Regions from separate parts of the Homo sapiens genome. Here region 1 is linked to region 2. The links are contacts of gene promoters, found by promoter capture Hi-C in blood cells and fetal thymus (Javierre and others, 2016). All regions are on one chromosome and are shown on one strand. The core of a region is centred on a gene start or on the middle of the fragment in contact, and the rest is flanking DNA. Distances in the headings are between cores, read along the strand shown.

Region 1 (4,387 bases), core at 544-3,043, 400 kb before region 2:
TCTCCTGCCTCAGCCTCCCGAATAGCTGGGATTACAGGCACACGCTACCACGCCCGGCTAATTTTAAAAATATTTTTGGTAGAGACAGGGTTTCACCATGTTGGCCAGGCTGGTGTCGAACTCCTGACCTCAAGTGATCCACCTGCCTCGGCGTCCCAAAGTGCTGGGATTACAGGCGTGAGCCACCGCACCCTGTCCCAATGAGCATTTTACATGCTAAAGAAGAAATTCCCCTCTATTGAAAGTAGAGGTGGGCTATGATCATGGGACATAAAAGTTTTATAGAGCATAAAGAAACTCATGAAGAAAGAATATTTAAAAGCATCTTACTTTTGCAATTTTGTGACCATTTCACCCTGGAACTCCTTCATGCAAGTGAGAAGTCCTTAAACTTGAATTTCATTACCTTCAATGGCTGACTTGCCTCTAGCTGTGATTTCATATTATTTTTTTTCAGTGGAGCTCTATAGATGCTCCACATACCGTGCAGAGGAAAAACTGCTAGTTTCACAACCAAAAAACCAAGACTTAAATTTTGTTTGTAGCTTATTAGCTGTAGGGCTTTAAGTAAGTCGTTTAAATTGCCTCCAGCAAAAAATTCTCAACTGTAAATCATGAATAATAACTCTTCACTTCTAATATTTCATAAATTGTAAAGAGCTTTAGAAATAAAAATGGGAGTTATGATTACTGGTCCGTCAATTCCAATTTCCACACTAATAGCCACGAAGAAGCATGAGGACATCTAAAATAATTTTAAAATTGAGCCTTCCAGCCGGGCGCGGTGGCTCACGCCTGTAATCTCAGCACTTTGGGAGCCCGAGGTCGGGGGATCATGAGGTCAGGAGAGTGACAGCATCCTGGCTAACACGGTGAAACCCCATCTCTACTAAAAATACAAAAAATTAGCTGGGTGTGGTGGCACGCGCCTGTAGTCCCAGCTACTCGGGGGGCTGAGGCAGGAGAATCGCTTGAACCCAGGAGGTGGAGGTTGCAGGGAGCAGAGATTGCGCCACTGCACTCCAGCCTGGGTAACAGAGCGAGACTCAGTAAAAAAAAAAAAAAAAAAAAGCCTTCCATTTCTTTGCCAGAGCAGAGCAAGGGGGGACTGCTCTGATAAATCAGAAAGTGGGGTGAACAAGAAGCCCAAGCCTAGAAACCGTGCGTGCAGAGGATGAGGCACATGAGCGTGAGACCTGAGTTTTCGGGTGCAGATTTCCCGTCAATAATGTACACTCGCTAGCAGGTGATTGGACTGGTCACAGGTAATACATTTTGAAGTTATTCTTTAGGAGGCTTTTCATTCTTTTTAAGGCGCTGGGCAGCTGCGCGGCTTGCCAGAGGCTTAGCCCCAAGAAATGAGGTAGCTCGTGACATCGGACCCAGTCAACTTCACAGCGACCCTCCAAACGCGTTAACTCGACCAGTTCTTTCCGCGTGCGAAGCTGGGGTATCTTTAGATCCAGTCCGCTCATTTCGGCCAGGGAGGGGTTCCCACTTTCTGCACCGCTTCTACGGCGTCTGCAGTCCCCAAAACGAGAGGCCTCTCTCTCCGCCCTCTCCTCTCCTCCTATTTTCTTTCCTTTCTCTCGTCCCTTCAGCTTCGCCCCCGCTCTCTCTGGCCACCTCTCTCTCTCTCTCTCTTCCTCATTTCCAACGAACTCAGAAGGGAGAGGGACAGATATCCTCTTTTAAAAGCGACCAAGGGCCAGTAGTCGCGTTTTCCCGCCCCACCCCGGGAATTTGTAAGTTATTTACCTTCATCTCCACGCTCGAGCCGCTACGCGAACTATGAAGTACGCAGGCGCACCCGGTCTCCACCAAGCAGGCTACCGCGTTCCCGTCACCCAGGAGACCGCGCGAGCAGCGACCAATCAGCGAGTGCTAATTGAAAGGCGGTGCCTCGAGGGGCCGGGCCAAGCGCACCGCCCTCTGCGAGGGTGGGTGAGAGGCGGAGGGTGGAATCACATGACATCAGAGACGCTAACCCTGGGAAGTTGGGCGTCGCGAGGCCTTGCTGAGCCTCGGCTTCCTGGCTGGCTCTGATTGGATGAGATTCGTCCGGGAGAGACGGGCTCTGTGAGCCCTCAAAGGCGCGTGCGTAAATTTTGGACCGCGATGACTAAGATGTCAGTGCTGGCCAAAGGGGGCGCCGAGAAGCTGAAGGAAAGAAGACGCAGAATGTTAGATTAAAGGAGGCAGGATGGGCTAAATACTCCTATACAGTCCACGCAAAGAGGGGTTGGACGAGCTCGGGTATATCTTTTTTTCTTCCAGGTTTCTGGGGTAGAAGGGAGGAGGCATAAGAGGTACAATAGTTTATTTCAAGGTAGGGTTGTTGGTGCTTTTTTTTTTTCAGTTTCACCAAAATCTTTTTTTTTTTTCAATGTCAACAAAATGTGCTAGCTAACGTGGGCAGGAAAAATGAGCTCCAATAGTTTTCCTTTAGAGTTTGGATCTGGCAGCTTTTCCCCAAGTATAAAGCCCTGTTGTACAGTATTTGTGCTGCATTATTTATAGCATGAAAGTGCATCTTTTACCCAAGCGTCTGAAAGTGTTGAAACAGTCTACCTTTTGCTTTTCTTTTCGACATCAGGTAGGAATCTGATTGGCTTAGAGAAAGTTAATCAATGATTTGAAATAACTAATAATGAATGTTTGCAAATTCTTAAGTAGGGTGCTATGCCTTTGCACTGGGGTTTTCAGTTACGTTACGACAGGGGTCCGGATCCAGACCCCAAGAGAGGGTTCTTGGATCGCGCGCAAGAAAGAATTCAGGGCGAGTTCTCAGTGCTGAGAAAAGCAAGTTTATTAAAACACGTAAAGTGGTGAAAGGACAGCTACTCCATAGACAGAGTAGGACATTCCTGAAAGCAAGAGAAGGGACGCATCCACCCTAGGTACAATGCTTGTATATATGGGGAGATGTGCTCTGCTACAAGGGTTTGTGATCAAAGATTAATTTTCTTAATTATTTTGCAGGAATTGATATTATTATCTTTAAAGCAAAATTAGGAATGCCTTTGTTCTCCAGATATCCCGATATCTGGGTCTGTTTTAGTAAACATTATTAATTTATTCCCTTAATCGTAAACATCTAGAGGCGAGGAATGCCCAAATTCTGAGAATTCAGCCCAGCAAGTCTCAGCCTCATTTTCCTAGCCCTCACTCAAAATGGAATCGCTCTGGTTCAAACGCCTCTGACAGTTAGGTTAATTACTTAAATTTTTACTGAAAGATTCCTCTGCTGAAAGGGTAACCATTTAAAAATAGCCAGAGCAATCAGTTCTTAACAAGACCTGCCCTCAGGAGAAAGTATTTTTACCAAAGCCTAGTCTGCTGGGGTTTTATCAGAGCCTAAACTACCTGGGAGAAGGGAAATACTCAACTTCAGCCTCCATAAACCATCCTGTTCCACTTAAGTGTGGGAGATTAAGAAGTATTGGCGGGCGCCTGTAGTCCCAGCTACGCGGGAGGCTGAGGCCGGAGAACGGCGTGAACCCGGGAGGCGGAGCTTGCAGTGAGCGGAGATCGCGCCACTGCACTCCAGCCTGGGCGATAGAGCGAGACTCCGTCAAAAAAAACAGCAAAAAGAAGTATTGGTGGCCAGGCTCAGTGGCTCACGCCTGTAATCTCAGCACTTGGGGAGTTCGAGGTGGGGGGCTCACTTGAGGTCAGGAGTTCAGGACCAGCCTGGCCAACATGGTGAAACCCCGTCTTTACTAAAATACAAAAAATTAGCTGTGCATGGTGGTGGGCACCTGTAGTCCCAGCTGCTCGGGAGGCTGAGGCAGGGGAATCGCTTGAACCCGGGAGGGGGAGGTTGCAGTGAGCCTAGATCGTGCCACTGCACTCCAGCCTGGCGACAGAGCAAGGCAAGACTCTGCTCAAAAAAAAAAAAAAAAAAAAAAAATTAGCCTGGCGTGGTGGCACATGCCTGTAATCCCAGCTACTCGGGAGGCCGAGGCATGAGACTCGCTTGAACCTGGGAGGCAGAGGTTGCAATGAGCCGAGATTGTGCCACTGCACTCCAGCCTGGTGACGGAGCTAGACTTCGTCTCAAAAAAAAAAGGAAGTACTGGTGACTTTTACCATCCACACCGGCTCACTAAAGGCTGAGGCCTAATCATAGGACTATAGAACACTTGCCCTATCCTGTACCTTACCACATACCACTAAAAGACTACTTACAAGTATTCCTTTTATCCAGTATATCCTGTCTGGTGTCTTAGTTGTTTTCTGTTGTTTATGACAGAATACATAAAACCGGGTAATTTATAAAGAAAAGGAACTCATTTGTCATAGTTAGGGAGACTGAGAAGTCCAAGGTCAAGGGAGTGCATCTGGTGAGATCCTTCTTGCTGGTGCGGACTCTCTGAAGAGTCCT
Region 2 (4,800 bases), core at 1,755-4,254:
TTTGTGTGTTTGTGTGTGTGCGTGCGTGTGTGTGCGCGTGCCTGCGTGCATGCATGTGTGTAGGGGCAGGGGGAAGTTTTTTAAAAAGGAATAAAAATATTACATCTTAAAGTTATCAGCACATATGGTTCTGAGCATACTATTCTTGGTTGCTAGTTGTGAATAAAGATTTAAACGTTTTAGAAATCTCAGGTGAAGGCAGAGAGAGTATTACATAACCTCTTGGGCATCTGGAGTCGTGAAAAAATTGTGGGCTTTGGAACCAGACTTACTTAGTTTTGAATCTTGGCTCCCTCCCCTATTGGATGATGACCTTGTGCAAGTTTTTTGTTCTCTCTCAACCAGTTTTTCCATCTGGCGAATGGGAATAAAGTATATGTTCTATGTAGTTTGTGGTGGTGATTAGCCAATATCTTGTGTGCAATACTATCTGCACTTAGGAAGTAAATGCAAGCTTAATGATGATGATTAGATGACACAAGCAACAACTCTACTTGGCTCAACTTGTTTTTGGTAAACAAATGTAAAAACACTTAAAGAAAACTTCTCCGTTTTCTGACAATAAAGTATTTAAACATGTTGGTCTCTGGGGAAAGGAAGAATATGTCTTTGGACAACAAAAACCCCAAGTGATTATTTTTCCTTGAGAGGGCAATATACAGTGTGAGTGTGCTGATCATAGTAATTTGAGAATTTCTGAAATGAAAAAGATTTTAGAGCTTAGTTCATCCAACAAGCTGGGAATCCCCTCTCCAACGTTCCTGACGGGTGTTCCTGTCTTCCTACGTTTGTGTAATATAGACATGTTTGTATATGTTTAGGTGAGGAGCAGAGCTGGTTTTGTTTTGCTGTTGTTTTTCTTTTTACAGTTATTTATATTTTGTGTGATTTCCCCCTACAATATATGTGGAAATACATGGACTACATTTTAAATTTAAAAACCCCAATATGATAGTTAAAAAATGTATTTTAAGAACCCACCCACTCCCCAATTTTATAAGACATAAATCTATTATAATCATTCATGTTTAAATTGATCATTCCTCCTGTAGACAAATCCATCTGGAAATTTTCTTCTTTACTCGTGATCTCCAGCAGTCACCTAAATCTTAAGTCAAGTATGAAAAAAACCTCAAAAATGTTGCTTTAAAAATTGATCCGTACTTTGCGATCTACATTTTAAAAAATACCATGCTTATTTTACCACTTCACTTCAAGAAAAGGCCTCTAGGTCAGAGGTCTCCAATCTTTTTGGCACCAGGACCAATTTCATGGAAGACAGTTTTTCCACAGACCGGGTTTGGAGATGGAGGAGAGATGGTTTCGGGATGATTCAAGCACATTACATTTATTGTGCACTTTATTTCTATTATTATGACATTGTAATATATAATGAAATAATTATACAACTCACCATAATGTAGAATCAGTGGAAGCCCTGAGCCTGTTTTCCTGCAACTAGATGGTCCCATCTGACATGATGGGAAGCAGTGACAGATCATCAGACATTAGATTCTCATAAGGAGCACGCAACCTAGATCCCTCCCATATGCAGCTCACAGTAGGGTCCAAGCTCCTATGAGAATCTAATGCTGCCACTGATATGACAGGGTGTGGAGCTCAGGTGGTAATGCAAGCGATGGGGAGCGACTGTAAATACAGATGAAGCTTCATTTGCTTACCCACCACTCACCTCCTGCTGTGTGGCTCGGTTCCTAACAGGCCATGAACTGGTACCTGTCTGTGGCCCAGGGGTTGGGGACCACTGCTCTAGATAACTCCTTTCCACCCTCTTCCTGCCTGATTGCTGAAATTATGGAGTCACCATTCCTACTCCTGCCCATCATCACATGACTGCCCCACCCAACTGATGAAAGGGATAACCGACCTGCACCTTGAAGAAAAGCATCATCAAAGAGCTCTAAGATGCTGTGGAAAACCAGTATGGTAGTTCTGCAAAAAATTAAACAGAATGGTCATACGATCCGTGAATTCCACTTCTAGGTATAGACTCAAAAGAATGTTAAGTACCAACTTAAATAGATATTTGTGCACCACGTTCACAGCAGCATTATTCACAAGAGCCAAAAGGTGAAAACTACCCAAATGTCCATTGATGGATGAATGAATGAACAAAATGTGGGACGTACATACAACAAAATAGTATTCAGCCTTAAAAAAGGAAGGAAAGATTCTATTATTCTATGTAATAATAATAGAAATGATATGGATGAACCTTAAAGACATTATGCTCAATGAAATAAGCCAGTCACAAAAAACCAAATATGGTATAACTCCACGGACATGAGGTACCTAGAGTAGTCAAATTCACACAGACAGAAAGTAGAATTATAGTTTCCAGGGTCTGAGGGAAGGGGAAAATGGGAAATTATTTTTTAATGGCATAGAATTTCAGTTTGGGATGACGAAAAATCTTTGGAGATGGGCAGTGGTGGTGGTTGCACAACAGTGTGAATGTACTTAATTAATGCCACTAAATTGTACATTTAAAAATGCTTAAGGTCAGGCGCGGTGGCTCACACCGTAATCCTAGCACTTTGGGAGGCCGAGACAGGCAGATCACTTGAGCTCAGGAGTTCAAGACCAGCCTGGGCAACTGGCGAAACCCCGTCTCTACAAAAAATACAAAAAACTTAGCCAGGCCAGTTGGTGAGCGCCTGTAGTCCCAGACATTTGCGGGACTGAGAAGCCCAGCCTCTTGCGGGCTTTAGCGCAAGAGGTCAAGGCTGCAGTGAGCAGTGATCACACCACTGCACTCCAGCCTGGGTGACAAAGTGAGACCCTACCTCAAAAAAAATAAAAATAAAAATAAAAATAGAAAGATGGTGAGCATGATAACTCCTATGTTATGTGTATTTGACCACAATTTAAAAAAGTGCTAAGATTATAATGAATATATATAACATGCAATACCAGTAGCATGCAGAAGAGGGCGGATGGGGTTTAAGCTTTACAGAAAACCTCGATTCAATTCCCTCCTGCAGCCAATTCTGACCGTGTCAACGAATCATCCACGCACCTGCAGCTCTGCTGAGAGAGTGCAAGCCGTGGGGTAAGAACCTTAGCTTTGTTTGTTGTAACTCTCATTAAAAAGATATAAGGGCTGCATGGGTATTTTCTAAAAAGGAGATAATTTGAGCTAATATTGAGGGGAGGGAAGTAGGGTTATTTAGATTTTTAGTATTTACTATTTTGTCTAGATTAATGATTAGTGACCTTGGGGCTATTGATCTGAGGAATTTCTTGCAGATGCTTGAGAGCGTGGGTTTCTTTTCACTGATTGCGGATCAAACCTGGTCAGCTCTTCTATTCAGATTGAACGGTCCTATGCACTGTGGCAAGTTTTTTCTAGCTCTTATTTCCCCACAGCGTATGTTAACCTCTGCTGGATGAAACCTTTGGCTATTTAAGGCATATTTGTTGCTCCTTTACCCCGTTGAAAAGTTCTGCATTTGTGTTACCTGTTTAAAAGTAGGGGCAGATCTGATGGATCTTGTACAATGCAGTTCTTATTCCGTTTCCTTCAGAAGTGGACAAAGAGGGCCATATGTGGTTGCTGTAAAGAAGAGGATGGTTAACAACCTGTGAGCATTTGGTTTCTTGATAAGCTTTCTCCCAGACCACCTACACTGAGCTATTAATTAGGAATAGGATGCACTTCGAGTTTTATTTCAATTCTTGTGAACTTATAACTTTCCTAAGAATATATTTATACATGTAGGCAAAGTCTCTTGAACTTTGTGGCACCTAGCAGAGTGTCCCACAGCAGCTGCATGAAGCTTCATAGACAGGGGCATGGGGTGAGAAAGGAGGAAGTGGCCGCCATGGCAGCTGGTCAGATCAATGGATTCAACCTCAGTGATTCGGTCCTTAGGATGTCGTTACATCTTAAGCCACCTCATTTCAAGGTTTGAGGTGCCTTGCATTTGGGTTTAGTTACCATCCAGAAGGAACCAGACAGGTCTGGGTTCAAATCTCTGCTTCTTCAGTTGGTCATCTTGGGCAAGTTACTTTACCTCTGGGCTTTAGCTCCTCCATCTGTAAAATATGAATAATAATGGCCGCCATTTTGTTGAGTCATTGAGGGATTAAACAAGGTAATGGACATAAAACACTTAGCTCCATGTCAGACACGTAGGAAATACTGAAAAGAAGTCATTCTTACTCTTATGTTGCAAAGATCATTCAACATTCAATAGGTTCTTAATCTCTTTTCTATTTCTTTATATCATTGGGAAAAGATAAATTAGATGATTAAATATTCTTTGGTAAAACACTAGTTGTCATTTGATGATGTCTTTTGACTTGGACTTTTAAATTATAAGATATTAAAGATGTATTAAGGAAGGTCATTCTCTGTTTTTTACCTGCTTTTAACGTAGTAGTAGGGATATGATATTAACATATATATACTATTTATAGACTACATCACCAACATGGTGAAACCCCATCTCTACTAAAAATACAAAAATTAGCCGGGTGTGATGGCAGGTGCCTGTAATCCCAGCTACTCAGGAGGCTGCGGCAGGAGAATCGCTTGAACCTGGGAGGTGGAGCTTGCAGTGAGCTGAGATCATACCACTTTACTCCAGCCTGGGCAACAGAGCGAGACTCCATCTCAAAAAAAAAAAAAAGTGTATGTCCTACTTTTAAAATTGCTTTAATGAGGCCAAGCACAGTGGCTCACACCTCTAATCACACCCATTTGGGAGGCTGAGGTGGGAAGATTGCTGGAGGCCAGGAGTTTAAGAGCAGCCTTGGCAACATAGTGAGACCCTG

The links. Contacts are between HindIII fragments. The CHiCAGO score rates a contact against its expected background, and 5 or more counts as called.
Region 1: a contact is called between the fragment with the promoter of WDR19 here and the fragment with the promoter of TLR10 in region 2, in 3 of 17 cell types (naive B cells, activated CD4 T cells and total B cells). The highest score is 6.2, in naive B cells.

What each region holds. Positions count from the first base shown.
Region 1 is chr4:39,179,935-39,184,321 of GRCh38, reverse strand. WDR19 (WD repeat domain 19) reads right to left here and starts at 1,793. Exons shown (of 37, transcript NM_025132.4): 1 at 1,759-1,793. The coding sequence starts at 1,764. RefSeq lists enhancers at 755-824, 1,525-1,674, 1,799-2,093, 1,945-2,124. The HindIII fragment of the contact is 13,594 bases long and covers 1-4,387 here.
Region 2 is chr4:38,781,194-38,785,993 of GRCh38, reverse strand. TLR10 (toll like receptor 10) reads left to right here and starts at 3,004. Exons shown (of 4, transcript NM_030956.4): 1 at 3,004-3,073. RefSeq lists enhancers at 3,683-3,852, 3,915-4,124. The HindIII fragment of the contact is 660 bases long and covers 2,972-3,631 here.